Linked DNA regions of Homo sapiens: all the other regions are linked to region 2. Evidence: promoter capture Hi-C in 16 types of primary human blood cells and fetal thymus (Javierre and others, 2016). All regions are on one chromosome and are shown on one strand. Each heading gives the region's core, a stretch centred on a gene start or on the middle of the fragment in contact. The rest is flanking DNA. Distances are from core to core; before and after follow the strand shown. Region 1 overlaps CLCN3 (chloride voltage-gated channel 3). Region 2 holds the start of FBXO8 (F-box protein 8). Region 3 holds the start of HPF1 (histone PARylation factor 1). Region 4 overlaps NEIL3 (nei like DNA glycosylase 3). Region 5 overlaps AGA-DT (AGA divergent transcript). Region 6 overlaps MFAP3L (microfibril associated protein 3 like). Region 7 overlaps NEK1 (NIMA related kinase 1).

Region 1 (4,150 bases), core at 515-3,014, 4.7 Mb before region 2:
TGGCGCAATCTCGGCTCACTGCAAGCTCCGCCTCCTGGTTTCACGCCATTCTCCTGCCCCAGCCTCCGGAGTAGCTGGGACTACAGGCGCCCACCACCACGCCCGGCTAATTTTTTTTGTATTTTTAGTAGAGACGGGGTTTCACCATGTTAGCCAGGATGGTCTTGATCTCCTGACCTCGTGATCCGCCCACCTAGGCCTCCCAAAGTGCTGGGGTTACAGGCGTGAGCCACCGCGCCCGGCCGTCTTTGCCCACTTTTTAATAATGTTGTTTTTTGCTTGTTGAATTGTTTGCTTCTTGTAGATTGTAGATATTAGACCTTTGTCAGACGTTAGCTAGATTAACAGAGAAAGAGACAAGATCCAAATCACCACACAATCAGAAACAACAAAGGTGACATTACAACCAATCCCATGGAAATACAAAAGATCCCCAGAGACTATTATGAACACATCTGTAAACACGAACTAGAAAATCTAGAGGAAATGGGTAAATTCTGGAAACAGCCTCCCAAGATTAAATCAGGATGAAATTGAAATCCTGAACAGACCAATATCGAGTTCCAAAATGGAATCGGTAATAAAAAATCTACCAACCAGAAAAGCCCTGGACCAGATGTATTCATAGCTGAATTCTATCAGATGTACAAAGAAAGCTGGTACCAATTCTACTGAAACGACTCCAAAAAATGAGGAGGGGCTCCTCCTTAACTCATTCCAGCTTCACCCCGATACCAAAACCTGGCAAAGACACAATGAAAAAGGAAAAGTACAGGTCAATATCCCTGATGAACATAGATGTAAAAACCTTCAACAAAATATTAAGAGAGTGAGTTGTTAAAGAGAAGAGGGTATGATCCAGGCAGAGGGAGCAACAAAGGCCTTGGGGCAGGAGTCAGGAAAGAGCTTGATAGGACTGAGAGATTGAAAGATCAGTGAGTCTAGAGTACTTCAGGAAGTACATACTTCTCAAAGTAAGATATACAACTGGCCAACAAGCATGTGAAAAAATGCTCAACATCACTAATGATTAGCGAAATGGAAATCAAAACCACAGTGAGACACCATCTCACGCCAGTCAGAATGGCTATTAAAAGAAGCTGGGGCCAGGCGCGGTGGCTCAGGCCTGTAATACCAGCAATTTGGGAGGCCGAGGCGGGCGGATCACGAGGTCAGGAGATTGAGACCATGGTGAAACCCCGTCTCTACTAAAAACACAAAAAATTAGCCGGGCGCAGTGGCGGGCGCCTGTAGTCCCAGGTACTCGGGAGGCTGAGGCAGAAGAATGGCCTGAACCCAGGAGGCGGAGTTTGCAGTGAGCAGCGATCGCGCCACTGCACTCCAGCCTGGGTGACAGAGCGAGACTCCATCTCAAAAAAAAAAAAAAAAAAAAAAAAAAGTGCTGGGGAACTAGCAGGGGTTGGGCTGCATAGAACTTTTTCTGCTATATTAAAGAGTTTGTTTCTTAAGGGTAGCAGGAAATGATTAAGAGATGTTAACATGGAATGGAGAGAGATTATGAGCAAACTTACTTTTTGGAAAAAAAAACTGTGCTGGCTGCAGTGTCATCAGATTCGAAGGAAGCAAAATAATTGCACGTAGATAATATAGGAATTTATTAGGTAAACGAGGCCTTATTACTGGAAGTTTTCATAGTTTATCTCTGATTATTATTATTACTTTGTTTGAGACAGAGTCTCACTCTGTTTCCCAGGCTGGAGTGCAGTGGCATAATCTCAGCTCACTGCAACTGCCGCCTCTCTGGCTCAAGCGATTTTCATGCCTCAGGCTCCTTAGTAGCTGGGGTTACAGGCGGCTGCCACCACGCCCGGCTAATTTTTTATTTTTAATAGAGATGGGGTTCACCACCATGGCCAGGTGGGTCTTGAGCTCTTGACCTCAAGCGATCCAGCTGCCTCGGCCTCCCAAAGTGCTGGAACTACAGGCATGCGCCACCACACCCAGCTTATCTCTAATTTTTATAATTTTGTAAGAATATATTTACAAGCTACTGTGTATCTATTACAATGTTTTGAAATGATTATAAGTATATTTTTGGTGATTAAAATGGAAAAGGTGACTTTGCATTATTTTTTTTAAATATGTAAAATTTCATCTGCTGTGTTAGAGTCTAAATAGCCTTTTGTGCCCAAGCCTGGGAATTGGGTTTAGAACCTGAAAATATTTAACACTAGTGTTCAGATTTCCTTCTGTTATATGTCCTTTATGCTACTATAGAAATTTGAATATTTTATAGCAGTGCTGTTCAATAAAAGTGTTAGTGCTGCAAATGCAAGCCACATAGGTAATTTTTAATTTTTCAGTAGCCACATTAAAAAGGTAAAAAGAAAGTGGTGAGATTCATTTCAAATATATTTTATTTAACCCAATGGATCTAAAATATTTCAACATGTAATCAGTATAAAATTTCTAGTCAAATATTTGACATCCTTTTTAAATATTAAGTCTTAGAAATCTGGTAGGTATTTTACACTTAGAGCACATTTCAGTTTGGACCAGCCATGTTTCAATGGCTCGATAGCCGTATGTATGCTGGCTGCTGCATCAGTCAGTACAGCTCTATAGGTTTCTGGGTTAATACGTGGAATAGTTTTTTTTTTTTATCTTAAGTTATCAAATTTATAGAAATAGAAACCCATGCAGGCCTGGGTTTAATTGGTTTATTTGGAGCAGAGTTGCATGCTTGTGTTACAAAGAATGATCTGCAGGCTAGGTGTCTCAAAGGTATTATGAAATTAATTTTTTTAACGGAAATAGTTAAATTTCCAGTTACCACTTACGATTTTTGAGAGACTTTTAGGGATAAAATGGAGGAGATATATTGGAATTTGCTGATTGAAGTATTAACACATAAAAAGGTTTAATGATTTTACAGAGATTTCTTAGTGCTGTGTAGCCTCTAGCTAATGTTCACTGAAATGTTATCATATGTATTAAGCCCTTCTATTCTGTAAAGAAATAAAAACAGAGTGTCTGTGTTCTTCACAAAAATCTTAGCATACATGCTTTGATACATCAAAATTAAATGATTCTTAAGCTATTAATGTTTATGTTTTTAAAAGCCTTTTGGTAATTTTCTCAAAAGCCACATAATATTTAATTTGTTTGCCTCTATGGAACTGCAGATTTCTTAGTATGAACAACTACTTTCATACTTTCCTATTGTTTTAATTAATATACTCTAACAAATCTCATCTCAGTATAATATGCCATCTTTGGTAGCGATAACTATAAAACATTCATAAAGTTGCAAAGCAGCAAGTATTTACATTTTTCTTTTTTAATTTGCTAATTTTGGTTATTCCTCCAAGAACAGTTTAATACTCTTGGAGAGAGGATTTTTTTTTAAATTGAAAACTGAATACATTTCTCTTTTTGACCTCATTAATTGAATAGTTTGACATTTGTTGTTCTTACACTGTGCCAGTCATTATGCCAGATGTGGAGAGCAGAGGCATGCTCTCAAGGAGCTCTCAAAACTTCACCTTTTTCAAAGTGATCTTTAAGTTAGGAAATTTATATAATCTGTTTAAAAGATATTTATTGTCAGTAATAGTCTAGTTTTCTAAAACTTCATAAATACCTTTTTGTTATTAAAGCTCTTTGAGGTTATCTTTCCATTTGCAGAAGGAAAATTTACTGAGTAGAAGAGATTGTCTTAAAACACTCCACGTCTTCAGTGTTAGAATTCACTGCTAGAATTCATCACTGGAATTGAACTGTGCTTACTTTAGTCTTCATCTGTCATTTTCTGTGTGTACTTACTAGGCCATATCTGCTAAGTCTTGTTTTACAAGGCTTACTGGTTTGACTGCTTTTATGACTGCATCTTTCAAGTCCCACCCATGCAGCTTAAAAGTCTATTACTAATGTCCCCATACTTATGTTGAACTCTTATTTTGGTGTTGAGTAAGTAAGTGGAGGTATTTAAAAATCAAACTAGTTAGGAGTAATACAGATTTAAGAATATGGAGAGTAAGAACAATGAAAACATACCCTTTTTTGATTTGTTGCCTGTTACCATTTTATCAGTGGCTAATGTTTGACCATAGGCTCTGAAGATTTAAATTTTAAAAGGATGAAAGGAGAATGAAATAAATATTTTAAAATTTTTTAATTGTAGTATTTA
Region 2 (3,913 bases), core at 1,320-3,819:
AGGGAAAAAACTCTGAAAAACAAATTAATAAATAAAAGAAGAGATGATGGCGTGCGTGTGTGTGTATTTAACATCTGTCCTTTCCATCTCTTTTTTCCCTATATTCATGACTTCCACAAATCACTACTCCATATAGAGTCTCTCCAAGCTTGGCTTACTTGCTAAAATCTGGTTCCTTCATTCAAATAGCTTATGAATCCTATGCAATCTATTCTTGAAAAATACACGAACTGCTGACTAAATGGTTAAACTCCCTAAAGCTGTTGCCTAAACTCCAAACCACAAATATTTTTATCTTATATTGCTATAAAGTACTTGCACCAGCACAGTGGCTCACACCTATGATTCCTGAACCTTGGGAGGCTGTGGAAGGAGGATCGCTTGAGCTCAGGACTTCAAGACCAGCCTGGGCAGCACAGTCAGACAAAAAAATTAAAAGAAATAACCACACGTGATGGCGTGTGCCTGTGGTCCCAGGTACTCTGAAGGCTGAGGTGGGAGGGAGAATTGCTTGAACCTAGGAGGTCAAGGCTACAGTGAGTCTTGTTCGCACCACTGCACTCCAGCCTGGGCAACAGAATAAAAATCTGTCTCAAAAAAATACTTGCCCCAAATATGATATAAATTTATTCAAGTCAGCCAAAAATGTTTTAGTTTATTAGAGAGCTAAGTCAAGAAATTTGTCAGAAAAACAAAACAATGAGAGCAAAACGAAAAAGAAATAGTGAACATAAATTTCCAGAAATAGATGTATTTCATTTAAATTGTTTAAAAAATTATTTAAGTAAAATAATTCAAGAAAAAGAAACAGAAATTAAATGCATAATTCTTAGACTTTAGTATTAATGATTTTGATGCATTATCATGGGTCAGTCAATGGAATAGTGCCAGTTTCCAAATCTGAATCAAAATGAGGAAAAAATTAGTTGTACATTAGCAGTTGGTTAAATAATAAACCATAAAGTTACAAATCTGAATGACTAATTTCAACACACTGTGATTAAAGATTTGGTAATTCAATGTTTTTATATTGTAAAATGAGGAAGATATCTTTTAACCTAGCAACAGTAAACACACAAAACATTCCCCATTAAAGTGACCATATGTAATAAATTATGATCAATGTTTTGGCTTATCTAGAAGTTACTATAATATTTTGTGGATGGAAGTAATTGATCCAAGGGCCCCAAGTAATATTAGTTAATTTGCTGTAACTTATTATTAAATGAAGTTACGCTGCACCCTAATTCCTGATGTACAGAAACTGATAATATTTGTTGTTTTAAGCTGGGGTAAATTTGGGGGTAATTTGTTACCCAGCAATAGACAACTAATGAAGTACCTCATCAGACATATTGTCAGGTTAATTGGCTAAAGATGAATTTCTGACCCAATATGAAAAAAATAATAAAACTTATGCATTCTTTATTCTGAAACCTACTCTGTTTCACATATCATTTTCGTGAAGGGTAGAGTTGAGAAGTGTGTAGAGCTCCTACCTCAGAAATACATTACTTCAAACATTAAAAGAAGGAAGAGGAAAGCTGAAATAGAAAACATAAATTGTCTTCACTTTACCGTAATAAAAATCATGATATATTCATTTGTGGATATACACCTAGGAGCCTTGAAAATGAATATTTTACTTGTAAAACAAGTAGAATCAATTATTTTATTAGTAAATTCATACAGAACCTAAAAATAAAACTAAAAAAATTAAATGACTGAGGATTGGGATCCATTTATGTGATTTTGCCAAATAAATATTGAGAACCTTCTACGTAAGAGATTAGAACCCAGTCGCTGAGAAACAAATAAAAGACAAGTTTGACAAGTTTTATAACCCAAGTTTGACTACTGTAGCAGCTAGCAATCCATCGTGATCTTAACTATACTTGTGTTTGCATTCATATTACTGGAAAGTGGTAAAGAACCAAAAACTGTCTAGGAACCAAAATAACACTCGACCCGAAAACCAACACTTGGACCTGAAGAAAGTAACCCTTGTCATTTCTCAGGTTTATTTCACAATGACGCTGGGTTACTACTTGGAGTCCTAAACCGAACTACACCCCAATGGCCTAGAAACAGAAGGAACACACCCAGTTCCGCCTCCTGACAGTGATTCCTCACTTTAATGAGCCACCACTACTGTCACTCAAGATGCTTCGCACTGTCATTGGTCGCAAACTCTTGCTGGTCGGCCAGTTTCGGCCAACTGGCAAGCACTGGTTGTCTTTATTTTCGAGAAAAGTGAAGGTGAACAGGGAAAAGAGACAAGAGATCTAAAATATCTAGGTTGACTCCTGTACCTGAGCGACCTGCGATCTCCACCGCCGCCGCGACGAATTGGCCTCTGGGCGGGGACTTTTAGCCAAAAGGAAAATGGCTCAGCCGGGAACTGGTGCCCAGGCCATGGAGAAGCTGATTCAAACTTTACTTGTCCACACCGGTAGAGGTGACCGCGATGAGAATACCAGAAACAGCACTACGACCCTCAGAACTCAGGGTACCTCCAGCTGCAGGGGCCAGAACTGCCGACTATCCCAATTTTGACGTTTCCTATTGTTGCCGGAAGTGACGTTAGGCTCCGACTCTTAACGGAGACGCATTTTTATTTCTGTTGTTTACGATTCGCTATAGATTCCTTGTTTCTCACTTCGTAGCACGAGCCACTCTGACCATCAAGATCAGAAAAACTTCTCAGCTGCAAGTTAGAAGTGGACTGGCCATTGAGGAGGCTCTCAGCGGAGTCGCTCTTCACAGGAGTCTTGAACGCGGTGTGGAATCGGCAGCGAGGAATCCTGGAGCACAGAGAAGCTCCCAGCTTTGAAGGTCTTGCGGTGGTGCGTGGCGGGCAGGAACCCACAATTCCAAATACAAACGGTCGGCGCGAGAAGCGCTTCTGGGCGCAGGCGCCTGGCTGTAGCGACTGGTTGCGGGAGGCTGGACTCTGGTGACTGTGTATGGTTGCATATGCTCCGTTTTCCTCTCCCTGTCGTGCTGGGCCTTTGAAACCGGCTTCTTTGCTGGTGGCTGCTTGGTGAGCCCCGAGGAGACGGCAAGGCTGCGCCTGGTATTGGGCGGAGGTCGCCTCTCTCCGCCGTCCTTACAGAGACCCCGGGCGGAGACGAATGACCAGATCCGCCTTTTCATTCTTTTAAATCAAATGGCGGGAGGGGAGCCTTGCTTATATACCCAACTAGTATATGCTTTTAGTCACAACGAAGTGGGAAGTATCGTGGTAGCTCATCCTATCAGAATTAGGTTGTGACTTAGGGTTGGAAAGTTATAGGCTTACTGATTCCTATTGGATCCTCTGGGGTGAGGATACAAACGGCTCCTGACTATAAGGAAGACAGGACAGCAGTTCGTGTTTTCCTTGTTGGCATTTCCCCAGCTTTTCAAATATTTCTCCACCTTTATTGAAGGCTACAGATTTTTCCCTCACTGTAACAAGTTAATCTTGAAGTTGTTATTCTCTTTTACTCTGGAATTATGGCCATGCTAGACTGTTTTTTTCCCGAATTATCTGCAGACCTTTTAATTTTATGTGTGAACACAGCAGTCCCGTTGAACTCTTTACTTGTCCCTTACTCCTCCCCACTCCCGCCCAGCTTTCTCGATGCTTTGCCTTTCTCAGACCTTTCTCCTATCTCTTAGAGAAGTATTTCCCTAATATCTTTTGCAGTTTCATAAACTGTTTTTCTCATCTTTACTTTTTTGTTTTTGATACGTGTTTTTAGATAATATCGAGCATTATGTGCTATGTCACAAACTCTTAGCCATTGACTGTTATTAGAGTCAGTGTAGTTGCTTCATTCTAAACAAAAATCACTCTGGTCCAGTGACATTCTATTGGGAGGCATTGTTTTAATGACCTCTAACAGCAATGAGATTGAGCGATGTTGAA
Region 3 (4,021 bases), core at 1,474-3,973, 4.5 Mb before region 2:
TGTTAGGAGAACAGTTGTAAGGTTTTCAAACAATAGACTATTACACTTAATATTACAGTTGACCCTTGAGCAACAAGGGTTTGAATTTTGTGGACCCACTTATACATGAATTTTTTTTCCAACCAAATGCAAATAAAAAAATACAGTATTCTTGGGATGTGAAATCCACTTATAGAGAGGGCCAACTTTTCGTATACTCGGGTTCCACAGGACCAACTTTGGAACTTGGGTATGCTCAGATTTGGGGATATATGGAAATTTGTTACTGTATACTAGACTATTAACTGTGTTATCTTTGGCTAATGAGATGGTTTGTTTTCTTGTTGCTTTAAAAATTAGTGTATGCTCTCCTAAGGTCCTGGAACCAATCTCCGTCATTTACCGAATGGTTACTCTATGGCTACACAATATGGACCAACCTATATTCAATATTTTTAATGAGGAAAAAAGCTCTTGATTATATGCAGCATGATAGCCTTTTTATGAAGTTCAAAAACTAAGAATAAATATTGTTTAGGTATACACTCATGGGAGATAAGCCTATTTTTAAAAGGCAAGGGAAAACAAAATTCAGGATAGCTACACTGAAAATAATTGACAGGAAGAAGGCTGAACGGATAGGAGAGGAACACGTGTAGATGTAGAGCTATTGTCTGTTTCAGCTTTGGGATTGGGCAATGGGTTCACTGGTGTTTGTTACATTACTTAACATAAATAAGGTCAAAGACGATCATGAATATGGTAACAGTTTATTATGCCAAGGATTATAATGTGTCTGATTTATAAAAAAAATTACGTTCAACAAAAAGCCTGTTGAACAATGAATCCAAAAGTGAGTATCAATAATAGCAAATAGTAATAGTAAAGATAATATAATAGTAAAAACAAGTAGTTAAGTGATACTTACTGAGAACTTATTTTGTGCTGTTTCACTGTTCTAAGCACCTTCTGTGGATTAACTCATTTAGTCCTCAACTGTCTCATGCACTAGATACCATTAACCTCATCGTACAGCTGAGGAAACTGAGGTTAACCTCCCTACGTCCCTAACTAGGAAGTGGAAGAGAAGGGATTTAAACTCAGGTTTAAATCTGGGTCCACAGCAGATCCTCAACCACTTCACTATGCTGCTTCTCCAACATCAAATATAGAACAGTAGGAACATATGAAGTCCTGAGCTATCCTATCTTCTGTTTTCATAACTGTCTTTGTTCAGACGTTCAAAGACTGGCTCCAACTTAAGATGTTAGAAAAGGCTTAATCTGCCTTGCTGAAAGGCAGTTTTGCATAATAGTTAGGTTGCCTGGGTTGACTCCTGACTCTACTGATTTCCAACCTTAGGCAAGTTACTTAACCTCTCTGTGCTTTGTTTTCTCATCTGCAAAAAGGGCATACAGTGCCTATATCGGGGTTGTTACAAGGAATGTTATTATATGTAAAAATACACAGAACGGTCCTAGCACATAATATACAAATGCTGGCCATTACGGTTATAGTCTCTACAGACTCATCTTCATTTCTGTTATTGTATTTCTAGTTAAGCACATCACTCCACCAAAGCAGTTCTTCACTGCACCTTCAAAAAGAGAATTTTTTCAGCTGTGCCTTTACTCACACACTAGTTCAGCATCTCCATAGCCCTAACAACTAGGATTTAGAACAGCTGTCCCCTTCAGAGGCTACACTTCTTCTTTACCCTGGTCTTCCTAGAATGCATGACCCAATATGAAGGATGCCTATACCGATGGCCCTTTAACAGTTAGTTAAGCCCTCTAAGAATGTCTCACCCTGTCCGATTTATGACACTACCAGAGTAACTTTTCTAAAACTTTAGTTATCACAATGGCACTTCTTTCCTGATTCCCCTTATTGCTACTGTAGTGGTTACAGAACTTCCGAAATCGTAGTAAAGTATGAGAATGCACACACTCTCTCCTCCTCCCCTCTCAGTAGTGCTTTTATGATCAGGTCCCTCTTATTTTCCCATTTCCCTGGCTCCAGCCAAGCCGAACGCTCCGCTACGCCCAAACATCTCCTACAGTTTTATGTCTCAGAATCTTACTTCTCTGCCTTCAAAACCAATTTTCAAAGAGTTGTCTTAAAAGTCTTCTTTAACACCCCCTGGGACTTGTTAAATCCTCCTTCAGTGTTTCCATAGCACTTTCTACACACCAGCGTTATAATCCCAAACAAAAAAGTCACAGTAGAATGCATATTTGCTTGTGCCCCTCCTCCCCAGGCCGAGGGCTCAACAAGCAGCAGGAGCAAGCAGGTTGACCCCCAAATCCGCAGCGCCCCACAGAATGTCAGGTATGTAATCGGTTCCCAATCAATCTGGCTGGGCGAATGAACCATTGGTTGGCTTAATCCGTTTCCCCAGGAAATGCTCCAAGAGGAGCTGGGCAGAAGATGCAGAGGAGCTACTTTCCTGGTCCAACCCCCTGCAGAGCGCGAAACAGCGGCCCTGGGCAGGATCCCCGCAGCAAACCGCAGCCCCTGGACACACAGCAAGCTTAATAGTCACTGGATGAATGAAAAGCGCTGCCTCCTGGTGCCCTGGCTGTCACCCAAAGCGCCCCGCGTAGCCCGCACAGCCTTTCCGGCAGTACCTGCGGCCCCTCTCCGCCGGGCCTGCGCTTCCCGCCACCGCCGACCATTCTGCAGCTGCAGCGCCAGCAGAATTCCCCGATCCGCGGCCGCTTCCGAGCGCCGCCAACCGCTTCCGGGTTCAAAAGCCTCCAAGCCGAATTTCAGCGCCGCCCGGGCTCGCCAATTTAGGGGAAAGGCTCCGCCCATTCCCCGCCCCCTGAGACCTGGCACCGGACGCGTTGAGGCCCCGCCCACTCCCGTGCTGGGCGCGTGCAAGGAGCGTCTTCTGTCAGCGTAGTCTGCATCTAGGCTTTCTGGAGCATCTTCCAGGGTCGCTCCAGAGACCCCCCAGACTACTGAATCTGAATCCTTAGAGTGGTCCAACCTTCCTCTTCAGGTGTCTACTAGAGGCAAGGTTGGATGTATGCGGCTGTTCTCAATACAGCCCCTTCCTTGTTTTTTCTTCATTTATATTTACTTAAAATATTAATCCTTTTCTCCTTCTCCTCCATCCCTCTCCCTACCCTACTGTACGGTTATTGGCTTACACTAATTCATTCCCGATTGTCTCCAAGAAGGAAATAAATGTCTGTCGGTCTCTGTCTCTGTACCGTCGTCTTCTTGGTACAATTTGGACTGTTTTTCCTCTACACCGCTGATATGCAAAGTGTAGTCCCTGAACCAGCGGCCTCAGCATCCTGAGGGAATTTGTTAAAACGCCAAATCTCAGGCCTTACCCAGACTTACTGAATCAATATCTGCATCGCAACAAGATCCCCTGGTAATTCCTATGCACATAAAATTTGGAAGGCACAACTCTCAACTGATGTCCTTGGACCTCCTTCACATCCATCCTGGGAAGGTCTTATTCCTCATTCCTGAGATGAGTTCTCTATTTCCTCAATCTGGGTGTTCCTTTTTCTTGATTATATACCCTCATGTTGTGGAACATATCCGCCAATAGTTCCTTGAGAGAGGTTGCTGCCAGGTCTTTTTTCCCACAGAGTGTGCATGTCTGGAAATGTTTTTATTCTGGCTGAGCACAGTTCTAGGTTGAAAATAACTTTCACTCGGAATATTGGAGGGCTTGCTCCGCAATATTTTAGCTTCCAGAATTGTTAAGAAACTATGTCGTTATATTTCCTTCTCCTTCACAGGTCACTAAATTTCTTGATATGTAACCTGCTTTCCTTTCTGTTTTGTTTTGTCTCAAGAAGCTTTAGGATCTTTTCTCTGTTTCCAGTGTTTTTTGTTTTGTTTTGTTTTGTTTTGTTTTTTTTGAGACGGAGTCTCGCTCTGTTGCCCAGGCTGGAGTGCAGTGGTGCCACCTCAGCTCACTGCAAGCTCCACCTCCCGGGTTCACACCGTTCTCCTACCTCAGCCTCCGGAGTAGCTGGGACTACAGGCGCCCGCCACCACGCCCAGCTAATTT
Region 4 (4,030 bases), core at 835-3,334, 3.0 Mb after region 2:
CCGCCACCATGCCCGGCTAATTTTTTTTGTATTTTTAGTAGAGACAGGGTTTCACGGTGGTCTCGATCTCCTGACCTCGTGATCCGCCCGCCTCGACCTCCCAAAGTGCTGAGATTACAGGCGTGAGCCACCGCGCCGGGCCTGCTGTCATTTTTAATTACTCCTGTGCATTTAATTTATCTGTCATTCTAAGCCAGTGATTGATTCTCCAGTTCTTAAACAAAGGAGGGATATATAAAGCCAGTCGCCTGAACTTCAGGCAGTTGGAAAATTCTGGCATTGACTGTAGCTATTTCAACCTTGAATGGGTTTAGTGGAAGAATAGTGTCTGTCTCTTTTTTTTTTTTTTCTTTATCTCCCTGTTATCTCTCTTTGAGCTAAGTACTGTGATTGTATCTTAACAAAGACCAATTTAGTGAAATAAAGAATAGAGTGGACATGTCATCTTAAGCATTTAGAATGACAAATGTCTGTAAAATCAAAAGTTTGAGAATCACTGAACAATATCATTTCACTCTAAATTGAGGAAAAATTGTGACTTGTTTCTAGACTCTGTATCTAAAGCTGTTTTATAATTATATCTTGACATTTCCCCACTCCCACTGCCCACCAAGGTTTCGTTCAGAATCTTCTGAGGATCCTTAGGCCCATTTGAGAAAAACACAAAAGAAGTTAGAGGTAAATGAGGATATTACCTTAGACTGAGTTAATGCGTAGATGTAATTCTGTGTACCCTATTTTATCTTATATAATAATTACGCATGTCTTAAGTTTTACATTTTTATTACATTTTGAGTTTAAATTAAATAATGTTTATAAAACATATATAAATAATAAAAAATAATGACATAAGAAACACCAGTATACATAATGCTCAGTTTAAGAAAAAGGGCATTACTAAAATCTAAACCAAACGCCCTTTCTTTTCTTCTCCCACAGAAGAACCTACATTTTATATTTTTGTTTTCTGTTTAATTCATGTTTATAATTTCCTCGAATATCTTATAGGATTCTGCCTATATGTTGTCATTCTAACAATATATTGTTTGGTTTTGCAAGGCTGATGGGGGAAAGGGAATATGAGTTTATTTTTTCTTTATTCTTAACATTGTGCTTGGAATAGGACAGGTCTCAAATTAGATTCCCCTACTCAGGGGGCCGCAGGTTTTTATCTCTGATCTCCTGCACCCTCACAAGATGTGAAAATTGAAGCTCTCATTCCTTAGTTTCATGTGAAAATTGAAGCTCTCATTCCTTAGTTTCAATCAATGCCCTTAGGATAGATGCTGGCTTCACAGCTCTCCCTACTACCTCTCAGGGTTCTCTCCCGCTTTTAGTTTTTGACCTTTTATTATTTCATACTAGCTTAAAAGTTCATCGGTGAAGTTAAAAATATTTTGTTTTCATATTTTATCATCTGTCATTTGTAGCTGTTTTTATCTGACCACTCTTTCAGGGAACTTGGCTATATACTTCTGGAAATGGAAGAACCTATATTCCAGTTTTTAGTTTTAGAACATTCGTGTTGTATTCCTATGCTTTCTTTTCATATGCACAGAGCTATATGGTCCTGGAAGAAACTTTATTTTGCTTGTCTACCAATTACTTTTTTTCACTTAATTTTTTTGGCCTCTCTCTCTTTAAATGACTGCATAGTGATTTGACAAAATGTATGTAAACAGCCGATTACATTACATGACTTGTTGGAGATTATTCTTCTCATTGGAATGCACCTGGGCGTGAAGTAATATAAACACATTTAAGAATTAAATAATGCTTTTGCTTAGAGTTTGTGTGTGTGTGTGCTTATGTGTGTACATGTATTTTCCACTAGGCTGCTGCACTGAATAATGATTCCAGCCAGAATGTCTTGAGCCTGTTTAATGGATATGTTTACAGTGGCGTGGAAACTTTGGGGAAGGAGCTCTTTATGTACTTTGGACCAAAAGCTTTACGGTAAGATAAGCCTGTACGATACATCTTATCTCTCTATATTTAAAGATGCGTAGAAGGCTAGATGGAGTTTGCCGGGTGTCACATTTAATCATATAGGAAGTACTGTGTTTTTAAGAGAGCTCCAATATGAGAGGTTGTGATTCTATCATGGAAATCAATAAACAGCAGAAGAATAAATTCTGATGTCATCATCACTTGGAAGACAGTCATTTTACAGGGCTTCCCAAGATGTATTAGAGCAACACATCTGTTTTGCTAGTCCCCAAGCTTCCTATACCACAAGTCTCTCCTTGTTTTTACCGAATGCTTATTGTATTCAGTGACATCGGTTACTTTATATTTGTGACAGGCCCTAGTTTGGTTTAAATGTATCACTTGATCTTTAAATATTTTTCTGGCTTCCTGCTTTCTCTGAAGCCTTGAATGGAATTTGGAAATTTACTTAGAGAGTGTAAAAACTTTCCAGAGAAATAACAGGTTCTCCATTGTTTCACAGTTCCCATGGAAATTCATGGCTAATATACTGGCAGAGAAGGACTAGCAACCTATTTCCTTTGTTGACTTAATGATAAAAAAGTCAAAATATATGTAATTGTGATGCATGATCACATGTTTAATTTTTGCAGGAAAATGAAAGCGGCCTTTGAGTTAATATGTCTACCCAATCTCATTCTGTCTTTTCTGAGTTTAGCCTAAGCTTTTGCCAACTGTAAAAATTGATACTGCTTCCTCAAATCGTTTTTAGTGCTGTTTAAAGATACTGACCACAGTTATCACCTTTTTCTTAAAAGAAAAGACCTGTTCCTGGACCCCATGCTAACCAAAGGTGAATAATTGTCACAAAGAGATGATACTATATGATTGTTCTTTATTGCATCTCATCTACCACATATTTAGAGTAATCCAGGGTTTATGTAATTGCTTTTCCTTTGAGGTGTTCTCTTTTCATTGTCAGCAGCTGCTGTCCTTGGACAACATTGTCACTTCATGGTTTTGCTTAGTCTGGAATTGATAACATCAGCATATGCCTAGTTGTTCATGCAGTAATGATATATTGCAGGTTACACTGCTGCTGTAGTAGACTGATGTGATGGAAAACTCATAGCTCTGGATAGAGTAGTACACAATGGGATCTATGCACGATAGTTGAAAACATTGATATGTTATTGATTCTCTGGTGTTAGGTACAGATTTATTTCTGTAAGATGAGAGGGGGTTTTTATCAAGTGCTCTCCACCAGACTGATAAGGGGGAAGTCATTTCTCAGCACACGGCTGTCAGTAAGTGTTCCATGAAGTTCTAAACAAGGACAATCACTTCTTCAAACTCATTGAACTAGTGCCCTCCCTGGAGAGTACCTATGTCAGTATATGGGTGGGAAAAATGCAGTGGCTTGCTTCCTTTCAGTTTCCTGCAGCCATAACAACTATTGGATGTAACAATTCAAGGTCAATGGCAGATCTGCTGTTGGAATCTGAACCTAAAATCATTTGCCCCTCTTTTCACAATGTAACAGAAGTTCAAAAAATGTACTTCCAACCTGTGCTTCTTAGAGGAATGGATAACTCTCTCAAAGAAATGTGATCTTTTTGTGAGGCTGCAGGTCTGTGCACCTGCAATAGAAATGTAGTCTTCATTTTTGACTTCTGCCTCCCACCCACCTGGCTCATCTGCATTTGATAGAGCATATAGCAGGAAACACTTTCAAAGGTTGCTCACAGTTTTCCCTTGATACCCAACTTTTCACAAGCAAAATTGCCCGCAGAGTTTAGTCATAAAGTGTGTGCATCTCATAGGTTGGGCCATGAATCTCCTGGGATTCATTGGTTGAATCTCCTGGGATTCATTTGTTAATGAAAGTAGAATACGAGCATAGCCTCTAAAAGAATCTGCCCTGTAAAAATCCACACATCAGAAAGATACAAATTAGAGAGTGATTACTTCTCTACCTACTAAGTGATATATTCAAGTGCTCCTGATAGTGCCAAGGAATACTAAAAATTATTTGATACACATTTATTTTAGGAGCACTATTGTGTTATGTGTGATTAATACCTGTACAACTTCTGAACAC
Region 5 (3,637 bases), core at 163-2,662, 3.2 Mb after region 2:
AGCACTTTGATAGGCCAAGGTGGGCAGATCACTTGAGGCCAGGAGTTACAGACCAGCCTGGCCAACATGGTGAAACCCCGCCTATAACAAAAATACAAAAAACTAGCCAAGTGTGGGGCACAGGCCTGTAATCCCAGCTGCTTGGGAGGCTGAGGCAGAAAGAATTGCTTGAACGCAGGAGGCGGAGGTTGCAGTGAGCTGAGATCATGCCACTGCACTCCAGCCTGGGTAACAGAGTGAGATTCTGTCTGAAGAAAACAAAAACAAAACTAATTTATGTAATTCTCCCATCCAAGTACTAACCAGGCCCGACCCTGCTTAGCTTCTGAGCTCAGACGAGAGCAGGCATGTTCAGGGTGGTATGGCCATAGACTAATTTATTTAATTCTATCCCACAGCTACTGATTGGAAAACCAACCTTGTATCTCTAGATGGAACTTTCTTCTGGCAGACACAATTGCTAATTTAAATAAACTAAGAAGTGATTGTGGGTGTGTGTAGAGAAATTATTCAGTAAAGACAACATTTTCTTTTCAAAATGTGTTTAGGGAAAATCTTGTAGGAGGAGTATGTGAATCAACGGAATCCAGAGATAAGTATACTAATGCAAACTTCAAATGCAAACCTTCAGATTTGGCAGTTTATTTTCCTTTTGATTCTACATGCAGAACGCTTAAGTTCAGGACTTGTTTCTAAAGGTTTGAGATGTCTAAGATAAACCACTGAAAGTGGTATATTGTCAAAAAAACTGAAGGGAGATTATATTTCTTTTGCGTGTGTTTGTGGAGGGAAGAGAATTTAAACAAATATTTTTTGGAAGCCAGTCATGGTAGCTTATGCTTGTAAGGCTTATGCTTGTAATCCCAGCATTTTGGGAGCACGAGGAGGGATGTTTGCTTGAGGTTAGGAGTTCAAGACCAGCCTGGGCAACATAGTGAGACTGTCTCTACCAAAAATAATAAGAAAATTAGCCAGGTGTGGTGGTGCATGCTTATAGAGACAGCTACTGGGGAGGCTGAGGTAGGAGGATTGCTTGAGACCAGGTATTTGAGGTTACAGTGAACTAGGATCATACCAGAGCACTCCAGCCCGGGTGACAGAATAAGACCCTGTCTCTACAAAAAAAAAAAAGGTTTTTTAGAATTGGCATCAGGATTATACACTAATTAGCAATTTCTCCAAAATATGTTTTAAAAATCTTATTAATACATTGAATACAAAATAAAGAAATCTCCCCTTTAAATTCTATAGGTGCCTGTACTCTACATTCCATTCCCTGGACTAACTGGGGCTAACAGTAGCAATATAAGCAACTTTGTGGAGCACAGAAAGGCAGGCCTTGATTTCACGGAAATTATTAGTCAAAAGTGAGAAACAACAAGGAGAAAACAAGTTTACCAAAATTCTAAATTTACAAAGGTTCTAAACTCCTACTATGCCTCCTGTTTTTAGATTTTAACTGTTGACAGTTGTTAAATTTGAGACTATTTCTCTTCTCATCTAGAATACTTAAAAAATAATTTTTTCATGCTTTTTTTACTACAAGGTTTTGTACATTGAATTGAAGACAATGAAAAACTAAACTGAAAGTTGCTGCTACTTGGTGTTAGAGGTTTCATTACTTGACTGAAAAAAAATTAATTTTACTGAACTCACCATGCCGCTCCAAAGCCCTTCAGTGATGGCAAATAGCCCCTTCTTCCTTACAACAAAAAGGCTGTAACTGGGAGGGAAAGTGTAAGGAAAACCAATTTTCAGCGACTTCGGCTGTTCACTTTATGTGAATTCTCTTTCTTTTGAAAATGGGAGGTGAGCAAGAATCTCCTGAGTTAGTGAATTTTAAAAATACTTGAAGGTAGGCCGGGCACGGTGGCTCACGCCTGTAATCCCAGCACTTTGGGAGGCCAAGGCAGGTGGGTCACCTGAGGTCAGGAGTTCGAGTCCAGCCTGGCCAACATGGTGAAACCCCGTCACTGCTAAAAATACAAAAATTAGCCAGGCGTGGTGGCACACGCCTGTAATCCCAGCTACTCGGGAGGCTGAGGCAGGACAATTACTTGAACCCAGGAGGCGGAGGTTGCATGAGCCGAGATCGCACCATTGCACTCCAGTCTGGGTGACAAAAGCGAAACTCCGTCTCGAAAAAAAAAGAAAAAAATAAAAATACTTGAGGATAAATATATAATATAATCCCTGTATGGGAAAATGTAAGGGAAAAATGGGGAATGGTGGAAAGTACCCAAGTCAATTAGTGTTCATATTAAGGGACAGGTTGAAGAGTCAGACCTTCTACAATAAAAAAGAGGTTTTTGGCTTATTTTTCATTTTCCTGACTCTGCCATGAGTTTTGGTTTCCCTCTAGGAGATGTGAGGAGCCTAAATATGTCAATATGTCATGTATGTATACAATAACATCATGACGATGAACAGCTACCACATATTGTGTACTTACCAAGAACCTAGTACTATCCTGAGTATTTCATGTGTTAACTTATTTAATCCTCTCACTATTATTATCCATGCTTTATAGGCGAGGAAAAGAAACCCAGAAAGGTTAAGCAACTTGTCCAAATTCTCCCAAATAGTACAGCTAGCATACCAACCCATAATATCTAATTCCAGAAACCACATTATTTTCTTTTAAATTATACTTCTTCCAAACTAATAGGTCATGTTATATTACATAATAACATCCGATTGTGTCTCATAAACAACTAAGACTCAGAATGTACCCACACACCACCCACCTGCACTCTTTCTCCTTAAACAACCAACCAAAGAAATGATTATGTTGAGGATATTTTAAATATGCTAGATTAGTAATCCTCTCATTATTTTTCTTTAAGTAAAATAATTTAAGGAAAGTAACTTGAAGATGATGAAGTGAAAGGCAACAGAATAATTTAGCTTCTAAAATGGGTATTAGAGTACAGAGAACTTAAGCAGCTTTGACTTTAAGAGGGTTACCTAAATTGTAATCAAATGCATTTCAAAAATCCCAAACAGCAAAGGACAAAGTTTCCATATCCATATATACCCTGAAGACAGGACAAGAAGAATTTTGCTCAACAGGTAGGTTTAGTTTAGACATAAATAAATCTTTCCAGGACTCTGTGACCTAAATCAAAGCCATAGAGAATCACTTGGTCACTGTTATCACAACTCATGTACCTGTTAAGGTCAATACTGTATCACTAACATTTCTTCCACCTCTATAATTTTATTGAACCTAACCAACAGTCAAGGTAGATGCTCTGTCCCCCTACTATTCAAACTGATATGACTTGATTATAAGGGCTGTGATACAAATAACTGCTAAAGGTGATTATTTAATCATTGGGGAATTACAGAAAAAGCAGTATGATGAATGCTTGATTCGTGATGGATACTCCAATTTTCCTGATTTGATCGTTATACATTGTGTGCTTGTATCAAAGTATCACATGTACCCCATAAATATGTACAACTAGTATGAATTCATAATAATAAAAAGCTTAAAAATCCAGTATTATTACCATCCTATGGGAGCTGAATGGTGGTGTTTTACAATTTATTTTCAAATCTTTATATAATATCTCAGATAAACTTAATTAAATTCTAACCAACATGGGTTTGATAATCATGGATTTAGCCTATT
Region 6 (4,095 bases), core at 1,223-3,722, 4.3 Mb before region 2:
AACACCTTCCCGCCAACGTAGGGCTGCCAGCAGAAATGGCAGGGAGTCATTAGACAGAACTGCAGGCCTGGCCGGGGGTGGGGCAGTGAAGCCCAGTGCCTAGCTTTAGCGGTAAGCAGCAATTTTCAAGATGAACTTCATAACAGCAGCTGAGAAGCAAGAACGCTCACTGGTTACTCAAGAGTTTATGCTATCCACAGCCATCCTGGGCAGTAAAGACCTAACAGGAGGTGCTGGGAGCCAAACACTAACTTAGTCTTCACTCAAATACCTTTCCTTGCCTAGGACCAGGGAAAACGGGTTTTGAATCTTTAAGCACAGTCGCTGTTTATCTACCTACTTTCTTGCAGGGGCGTCTGGCCTTTGGAGAAGAAAGGAGTTGGATGGTCTCCTCAGGGTGGTCATTACTGCCACAAATATAGAGCCCTTGCTAATTTCAAGAAGGAACAGAAAGGTACAGATACAGCCTGGTGCAATGGCTCATGTCTGTAATCCCAGCACTTTGGGAGGCAGAGTCTGGAGATAGCTTGAGGCCAGGAGTTTGAGACCAGCCTGGGCAACATAGCAAGACTTCATGTCTACAAAAAAATTAATTAGCTGAGCATGGTGGCATGCACCTGTAATCCCAGCTACTCCAGAGGTTGAGGTAGGAGGATCACCTGAGCCCAGGAGTTTGAGGCTACAGTGAGCCATGATCATGCCACTGTACTCCAGCCTGGGCAACAGAGCGAGACCTCATCTATATACACACACATATGAAAGGTAGAGACTCGAGAACAGATGGATCCTATCTTGTTAAGAGGTACTGCTTTCGTAAACCGATGAGAATGATTTGAATTAGTCTCAGCCTGCACCTGAACTGGGTGGGTCCCAGAAGTGGACAATTCTGGAGCACTTTATTCTAACCCATTTATTTCCTCAAGGAGCAAACCCTTCCCTTACGATCTTCCTCACACCATCAGCAAACTCAAATCCTCAGTGGAAGGAAGGGGTTGGGATTATACTTCAGTATCTGTTCAGCAAGTTTTCCTCTTTCCTGTTGACTAGAGTCAATTTCAGCACAGCCTCTAAGTAAGTTACAGTCTCAATCCAGAATTAGGAAAGCCCAACCCACAACAACTTTCTTTCAGTCTCATTAGCAAGTCCCCAATGCTTCAGTCCAAAAGCTGAGGGTCCATCAGGGAGTTAATTTCTTCTTTTATGTATCTCTTACAAAGTCTGTGCCCTGTGATAAGGTTCCGACTTCTTCCCTCGCATGTGGTGCTGTGTGTGGGGCTTTGCAGCTCCTCCCTGGCCTGAAGTCCCTTTTGGTTAAGCACAGGCAGTGGAAGTTAGTCTCTCTGGTGCTGCAAAGTCTTGCCTTTGGTAGGAAGACCCCTGAGAGATGCTCAGACCCCACTATCCTCGAGACAGGTGGGCCTTCCACATTTCTGCTGTACCTGAGACAGAATCTGGTTCACTATAAAGACATTGTTTAAAATGTCCCCTTTCCTTCCCTGCCCTGAGAAACATATCAATCACTGAGTTCTAATGATTCTCACTCCTCAATATTGGGCTGCCACATCCTGGGTTTCCCCTGGGTTATGTGCTCATCATCTCTACTGGACTCCTTCCTTGCCGACCTGCCTCTAGTCTTGCCTGCCTCCAATCCACATACCATGTCATTACTAGAGTCAGCTGACTCTGAAAGATCTAAAACATATTCCATGTCTTCGTTGTGTCAACAGTGTGAAACTCAAGTCCTACGCAGGACCTAGGTGATTCTTCACAGTCTGACTCCCATCCACCTCCCTGACTGCATCTCTGGAGCCTCCCCCTCCCCCCTCCCTCCTCCCATTCCCCTCCCTGACTGCATCTCTGGAGCCTCCTCCTCCCATCTCCCCAACCCCAGCAAGTTCTCTTTCCTCAACTCCCAGTAGTTCCCCACGGCACCACCTCCAGCCACGTTCCCTTCCTTACCTTGCACATCTGGCAAACCCCTAGCTTTGAGGTCTTGGTTCAAAAGCCCTCCAAGACTCCCAAGGTAGCCCCAGACACTCCTTTTCTCACCACCCTTTACTCATAACTTCCTATTTTCGCTATAATTATCTTTTTGCACATTTGACCCTTCATTAGATTAAAATCTCAGGTTGTCACTACCTGTTGAATGAATTAATGAATGGATGGAATATGGGCTTGAGAAAGGCTGGACACTGGTGCATGGGTGACTGATGCAGTCATGAGGAAAAATAAGTCACCCGGAAAGAACACAGAGGGCCACAAGCAAGACAAGAGACCCGGGTTAGAACCCAGGGAAAGCAGAGTACAAGCTCTCGGAGAAAGAGCAATAAAAAAAATATTGGGAATAGCTAAGGGCACAGTATTCCAAAGGCCACAGCAGGTGGGCCCTCTGCACTTCTGTAGAGCCTGACACAGATAATCCAATTAATTACATGGGAGTTGTTTAAAATGCCATCTTTCCTTCCCTGCCCACAGATAGAGTACAACTCTACCACTGAGTCCTGGTGGTTCTCACTCCTAAATATCTGGCTACCACAACCTGGTTTTTCCCTATTAAGATTTAAGAGCGAGGGAATGGTTTACACTGACCTAGTACTTTACAATAGAAAACAATTTTTTTTGCATCATTCTATGAGAACATTTGGGTAAAAATCTTATCAAGTCATACAAATGGATGCTAGCTATACAATATAAAGTTTTGTTTTATTAGGATAAATTTTAGTCAAGTCTTACTGTTGTTTCCAGTGTCAGATACTGCTAACCCAGGCCTTCTTTTACCACATTGTCTGAAAAATTTGTTTTTCTTACATGCAGTTCAGTTTCAATTCAAAGCCACTCTTACAACACTAAGATAGAAGAATCCTTCAGTTTAGGTTTTCTGGACACAGAGATGTCAATTTAACCAAGAGACAACACATTTTTGCAAGGTAGATATTGAGGCCTTGTACATAAGAGAGACTAAATGAATATGTTTGAAAAGAATTACTAGATTTCTAATATTCAAACCCAAAAGTTAGTTTATGTAGTATTATAGCTGTCAACTCCCACATCCCCCAACACCAACGTCAAATATGGAGCCCATCGCAAACATTGGTGATTGATTGTGGCACTTTCCCAGCTGAACCAGTACAAGCCCATGACATTGCAAGCAGCTATTACCAACTGGTCAGAGTTGGCCCATGTGAAATCTCATCATTCTCAAGTTAATTATGTTAAATTTTAGCTTTCACAGCTCCTTGCTCACGTGTGCATGGTACGCAGACAGCAGAACAGCTGATTACTGTTAGAGGACAATGAGCAGAAACAAAGTGAAATGTGACTTGCCTCTTCTGCTTTATGATGTCCTTCTTATTGTGAGTAAAAGTTTTAAGCTATTAATTTCATACATGCATACAAATGCTGCCATTTCAGATGAATCCAGAGACCTGAATTACAGCATGCTGGTTCCAGACCTCTACTGGCCACTGACCACCTCTTGTTGGACTTCCTTTATCAAGCTGCCCTGTGAAACCTGGGGTTTAGTTATCCATTGTGTTTTTAGGAAGTAAATCTGGCATCGGTCTGTTCCATTTCATGTTCTGGTTTCCCATATTTTCTCTATAATAGGACAGAATCCAAACTCCTTCACATGACACTGAGCTCATCACAGTAAAAGGACCACTTTGTTCCCCTCCTCCTGCCCTTGCCTATTAGTCCATTGCACCAAACCTTTCAGTGGATATGGCTGTATTTGCTTTCCATGGTTCCTGTAACAGATTTCCACAGACTGAGGGATTTAACATAAATTTATTTTGCAGTTCTGGGGCACGGAAGTTCAAACAGGTCTTAACGAGCCATCATTCAGGTGGGCCCAATGTAATCACAAAGGTTCTTTCACGTGAAAGAGGGAAGCAGAAGTCAGCGTCAGAGTGATGCCCCAAGAGAAAGATTGGACTGGCCGCTCTGAGCTTTGAAGACGGATGGGGCTACAAAACAAGGAATGGGGGTGGCCTCTAGAAGGTGGCAAAGGCAAAGAAACAGATTCTCCCCTAGGGCTTCCCAAAGGAACAAGGCCCTGCAGAGTCTCTGACTTTTGCCCACTAAGACCCACGTTGA
Region 7 (4,104 bases), core at 792-3,291, 4.7 Mb before region 2:
TAGCACAGTGCTCCCTCTACTCCCCTATGTAAAAGCGGGCAATTAAAATTAAGAACTGGTGATAATGAGAAATGTGATAGGAATGTAGAGAAGGAAAATATCACAGATTAAAGTAGTTATGGAAAATTTAAAGAAGCTGGGACTTGAACTGAGCTTAAAAAAAAAAGGTAGAGTATTAATAACAAAGTTTGGGGAAAAGGCTTACCAAAATAAATGAAATAATCAGAGTAAATACACAGGAAGGAGAATGAGATGTACAAACATGTGGCCCGGTGCCTAACACAAAGCACATGCTCAATAAATATCTGTTAAAGCAAATGAAAAGAGGTACAGATTAGGGAATAGAAAAAAATAAGGCTGCTTAGGTAGGGAACGGCCATATTTTAGAGATCCTGGAAATCAAAAGAGAGATTAGATTTAATGCAGTTGTCGGTGCAAGGCTTCTAGAGCTGGAGTTACCTGGCAAAGCCACATTTTAGGAATATATAGTCTGGCAGCAGTAAGCCAGATTGACAGAATATAGACTAGTCAGTTATAATGAATAATTAAGGCATATACATAGACGCATGATATATATAACATACATCACAGAGATAACAATATATCATTACAGACTATAAATGAGATGGGCAACTGAACAAAGGTGGCAGCTAATTAGAGGTAAATATGAGTAAACTATTGATATACTAAACTTCCCTAGTAATTTTGATTAGCATTTGTAGTTAAAAACAAATACACACATAAACAAATTTTGAACTACTTCTCAATAATAGAGTAAGAGTCAATTTCCTAAATGCAAACTTACCTGATCCTCTTGAAACAAAACGCCTTTCTGAGCATTTATTCGCTTAAACAGATCCCCTCCCTCACAGTAATCCATTACTATGTAGAGAGAGCCATTTTCTACAAAATATAAACATTACAGTCCACTTTTAAAAACGTACATCAAAAGCATGGCTAAATTAAAAGTACTTAAAAGCTTACTAAAAAGCAGCTGCTGAACAAAAAACAGGACCATACTCAAAAGAATTAGGGCACAAAGTCAAGGTATACCGGTCACAAAGATTGTATAATGACTTAGGTTAACAGAAAACTCCATCATTAATGATTTCTATTAAAAATACACTATTTTATTGAATAGTGCTGTTTGCATTGACCTAAACATCTCTGAAATATAAACAAAATGCAGACATACTTGATTTCATTCAATAAATACAATTCCTTAAATGTCACACATAAAATCATGTTTTTCCACCAATATATCACATCAGAGATGGGTTATCTTAGTTTTCTGACTGGCCATTAATTCTCTGCTTTGTTTTATCCACTTTAATCACTTACTTATTAAATAAATAAAATAATAAGTGTTGTGATAAACTCTGAGGATTCAACAGTGTATAGGATACACTGTTTCCACCCTCTTTGAGCTTTCCTTAATTTTATGCACTTTTTAAAAAATTGCATATGATTTGTGAACAAACATGAAGATGGGCACTGCCCCATCCACCTTTATGTCTCGGTCCACAAAGAAAGGTACTTCTGTGCTTCTTCCTATGGATAGAAAGGACTACAAGAATACTTCTTTTTTTTATTTAGGCTTTTTTTTTTCTTTTAAGAAAAAGTGTCTCAATATTTTGCTCATGCTGACCTTGAGCTCCTGGGCTCAAGGGAACCTCTCGCCTCAGCCTCCCCAATAGCTAGGACTACAAGCCCATGCTACTGTGTCCAGCTTAGAAGAACACTTTGATGATTCTTTCCATCCCTTACTTCTTAAGTAAGGAAGAGTGGCCAATATCACTTTTAACATTTTCTGAATCACTACATAGTACTGAGACTATCACAACTCAAAGAACAGTTTTCCTAGTTCTCACTTCTTTCACTGACTGTGCTATGGCCTTATTTCCAGCAGTATTTTTTTTTTCTTTTGAGACAGGGTCCAGGTTAGAGTGCAATGGCACGATGATGGCTCACTGTAGCCTCGACCTCCCGAGCTCAAGCAAACCTCCCACCTTAGCTTCCAGAGTAGGTGGAACCGCAGGCACACACCACCACACCTGGCTAATTTTTTAAATTTTTGTAGAGATGGGGTCTACAAACACCCTATGTTTCCCAGGCTGATCTCAAATTCCTGGGCTCAAGAGATCCTCCCACCTCAGCCTCCCGAAGTTGCTGAAATTACAATTGTGAGCCACCGCATCCAGCCTCCAGGAGTATTTATTTCTTATACTTTGTGGTGACATTCTTGTCACTCGTGGTGCACATATCTTCTTTTGATCTACTGTTTGTAATGTGCCACTGGGATAAGAATCTATATGATAAAGCTAATTAAGAATCTGTATGACTTTTTATGATTGACCTGGAAAGATCATCCAAATATACATGTGAGAAATTATAATGTGAAAAAAACTCCTGAAAACTATAATTCACTATTTATATGTATATAGATGTTATAATGTATGTAGCATAACAAAAAGCAAAAAATTACATATACTATGCTATCATTTATGTTTGATGCTAGCATGTATTCTTCTAAAACTAAGAGAAATAATAAAGCCTTATTTTTAAAATACGCTACCCCTTTTGAATCACACAGATGTTTCTATGTGAAGCAGTCAATATAAATCCAAAACATCTGCTGGAATATTTGCTCAAAACCTTTTAACTTGAAATATTAAAATTTTGTTAACAACAACAAAAAAAGAAACTAAAGGATAGATGCCAGGAGAAAGATAAAGGAAAATTCAAGGTCCTGAAAAGGAAGAGTTGGTTAATTTTGTACTCTTTCACATGAAATATAAATCTTCATTTCACTGCCAGCATAAAAAATACAGTACCTTGTGACATAATGTATTAATTGAATCACATTTTTATAAAAGTAGAAGAGACTTATAGTAGACACAGAGTTCATCTGGGAATGTAGTAACTTTAGCTCTAATTCAGACTCTGAAACTGGTATGTGATATGTCCCTGAGTCATTTCAATTATCTTCTACTTTCAATCTAGATTACCTGGTTTTTAGTTTACAGAAATTAAGTTACAGAAATTTATAATAATGAGAATATTTGGGTAGGACTTCAATAAACCACTTTGACCTGCCTTTAGAGAAGCTTTGCCTTATCTTAATACCTGCATTATTAAATATAATGCATATAGTTCCAAAACAGCATTATAGCTATAATACTTTAAGAACCTGAGAAAACTTTCAACATACCTCACTATTATAATAGTGAGGTACAGAGGAGCATACTGAGTGAGGATACTTTCTAAAGATCAGAACATTTTCTCAGTGGTAGTGGTGGCAGCACTTACAGGAAGTTCAGTTAAAAAATATGTAAATTACTGTTCTTGCTCTGTCCAAATTCTTGCACTTACTGCATTGCTTCTTTTAAAGCAATCACTAATAACAGCCAGTATTAAATTATACAGGCACAGTTGGGAGGCTGAGGCATAAGAATCACTTGAACCTGGGAGGCAGAGGTTGGAGTAAGCCGAGATCATGCCCCTGCACTCCAGCCTGGGCCACTGAGCGAGACTGTCTCAATTTAAAAAAAAAAAAAAATGCAGGCATGATATCAGTATTGTCCTTGAATCAAGCTGATATTCATATGCGTATGTTTTTAAGCAAAAATGGTATCTTTTTCCTAAGAATGCATTCACAAAAAGATTTATTAATGTCTTAGGATTTTTTAACTCTCTCGCATAATTTATCTGACCTTCAAATGATTCTCTATACTGGACAATATTTGGATGCTTCATGTTTGCCAATACTGCAACTTCTCTCCTTGATTCTTCTCTTTCTTTACTGGACATCTTAAATGGGAGGAAAAAGAAAATAGTAAATGAAACCATTAATAAACAACCTAAAAGTCCATCAATAGGTGAGTGGTTAAAACATAATAGTATTAATACAGTTCAATCAACAAAATATAGCAAGAAGTTAAAAAGAATGAGTTGAATCTGTAAGTAGAAACATTTTAAGATGTCCAAACTAGATTAGGTTACAGAACAGCAAGTATATTTTTCTAAACACATAAACATAAGCACATATCATAGAAAAAATCTGAAAGAATATATAGGCTATTCTGATATTAGCGGGAATAAAGG

Evidence for each region. The method cuts DNA at HindIII sites, captures the fragments that hold promoters and counts their contacts. A CHiCAGO score of 5 or more calls a contact.
Region 1: a contact is called between a fragment that was not itself captured here and the fragment with the promoter of FBXO8 in region 2, in 1 of 17 cell types (non-activated CD4 T cells). The highest score is 9.4, in non-activated CD4 T cells.
Region 3: a contact is called between the fragment with the promoter of HPF1 here and the fragment with the promoter of FBXO8 in region 2, in 6 of 17 cell types (non-activated CD4 T cells, naive CD4 T cells, fetal thymus and 3 more). The highest score is 13.2, in non-activated CD4 T cells.
Region 4: a contact is called between a fragment that was not itself captured here and the fragment with the promoter of FBXO8 in region 2, in 1 of 17 cell types (total CD4 T cells). The highest score is 6.1, in total CD4 T cells.
Region 5: a contact is called between a fragment that was not itself captured here and the fragment with the promoter of FBXO8 in region 2, in 1 of 17 cell types (total CD4 T cells). The highest score is 8.2, in total CD4 T cells.
Region 6: a fragment that was not itself captured here is called in contact with the fragment with the promoter of FBXO8 in region 2 in 2 of 17 cell types (naive CD4 T cells and non-activated CD4 T cells); the score reaches 7.2 in naive CD4 T cells.
Region 7: a fragment that was not itself captured here is called in contact with the fragment with the promoter of FBXO8 in region 2 in 1 of 17 cell types (activated CD4 T cells); the score reaches 6.1 in activated CD4 T cells.

What each region holds. Positions count from the first base shown.
Region 1 is chr4:169,631,344-169,635,493 of GRCh38, forward strand. All of the region lies in intron 1 of CLCN3 (chloride voltage-gated channel 3), which reads left to right. Among named protein-coding and RNA genes, the nearest start is that of CLCN3, 13 kb to the left of the region's middle. The HindIII fragment of the contact is 6,464 bases long and covers 1-4,150 here.
Region 2 is chr4:174,281,098-174,285,010 of GRCh38, forward strand. FBXO8 (F-box protein 8) reads right to left here and starts at 2,570. Exons shown (of 6, transcript NM_012180.3): 1 at 2,313-2,570. It overlaps CEP44 (centrosomal protein 44), which reads left to right and starts at 2,814. Exons shown (of 12, transcript NM_001040157.3): 1 at 2,814-2,846. RefSeq lists an enhancer at 2,765-3,014 and a silencer at 2,779-3,046. The HindIII fragment of the contact is 4,999 bases long and covers 147-3,913 here.
Region 3 is chr4:169,755,221-169,759,241 of GRCh38, forward strand. HPF1 (histone PARylation factor 1) reads right to left here and starts at 2,724. Exons shown (of 8, transcript NM_017867.3): 1 at 2,610-2,724. The coding sequence starts at 2,657. It overlaps LOC107986240 (a long non-coding RNA gene), which reads left to right and starts at 2,843. Exons shown (of 3, transcript XR_001741529.2): 1 at 2,843-3,004. RefSeq lists an enhancer at 2,572-2,641. The HindIII fragment of the contact is 1,294 bases long and covers 2,511-3,804 here.
Region 4 is chr4:177,320,625-177,324,654 of GRCh38, forward strand. It overlaps NEIL3 (nei like DNA glycosylase 3), which reads left to right. Exons shown (of 10, transcript NM_018248.3): 2 at 1,835-1,956. Among named protein-coding and RNA genes, the nearest start is that of NEIL3, 13 kb to the left of the region's middle. The HindIII fragment of the contact is 274 bases long and covers 1,948-2,221 here.
Region 5 is chr4:177,456,856-177,460,492 of GRCh38, forward strand. All of the region lies in intron 1 of AGA-DT (AGA divergent transcript), which reads left to right. It also overlaps the pseudogene RNA5SP172. Among named protein-coding and RNA genes, the nearest start is that of AGA-DT, 14 kb to the left of the region's middle. The HindIII fragment of the contact is 4,157 bases long and covers 1-3,491 here.
Region 6 is chr4:170,018,802-170,022,896 of GRCh38, forward strand. The region is part of intron 1 of MFAP3L (microfibril associated protein 3 like); the gene reads right to left. Among named protein-coding and RNA genes, the nearest start is that of MFAP3L, 5.5 kb to the right of the region's middle. The HindIII fragment of the contact is 7,338 bases long and covers 1-4,095 here.
Region 7 is chr4:169,598,295-169,602,398 of GRCh38, forward strand. It overlaps NEK1 (NIMA related kinase 1), which reads right to left. Exons shown (of 36, transcript NM_001199397.3): 4 at 3,714-3,810; 5 at 806-903. Among named protein-coding and RNA genes, the nearest start is that of NEK1, 12 kb to the right of the region's middle. The HindIII fragment of the contact is 2,128 bases long and covers 978-3,105 here.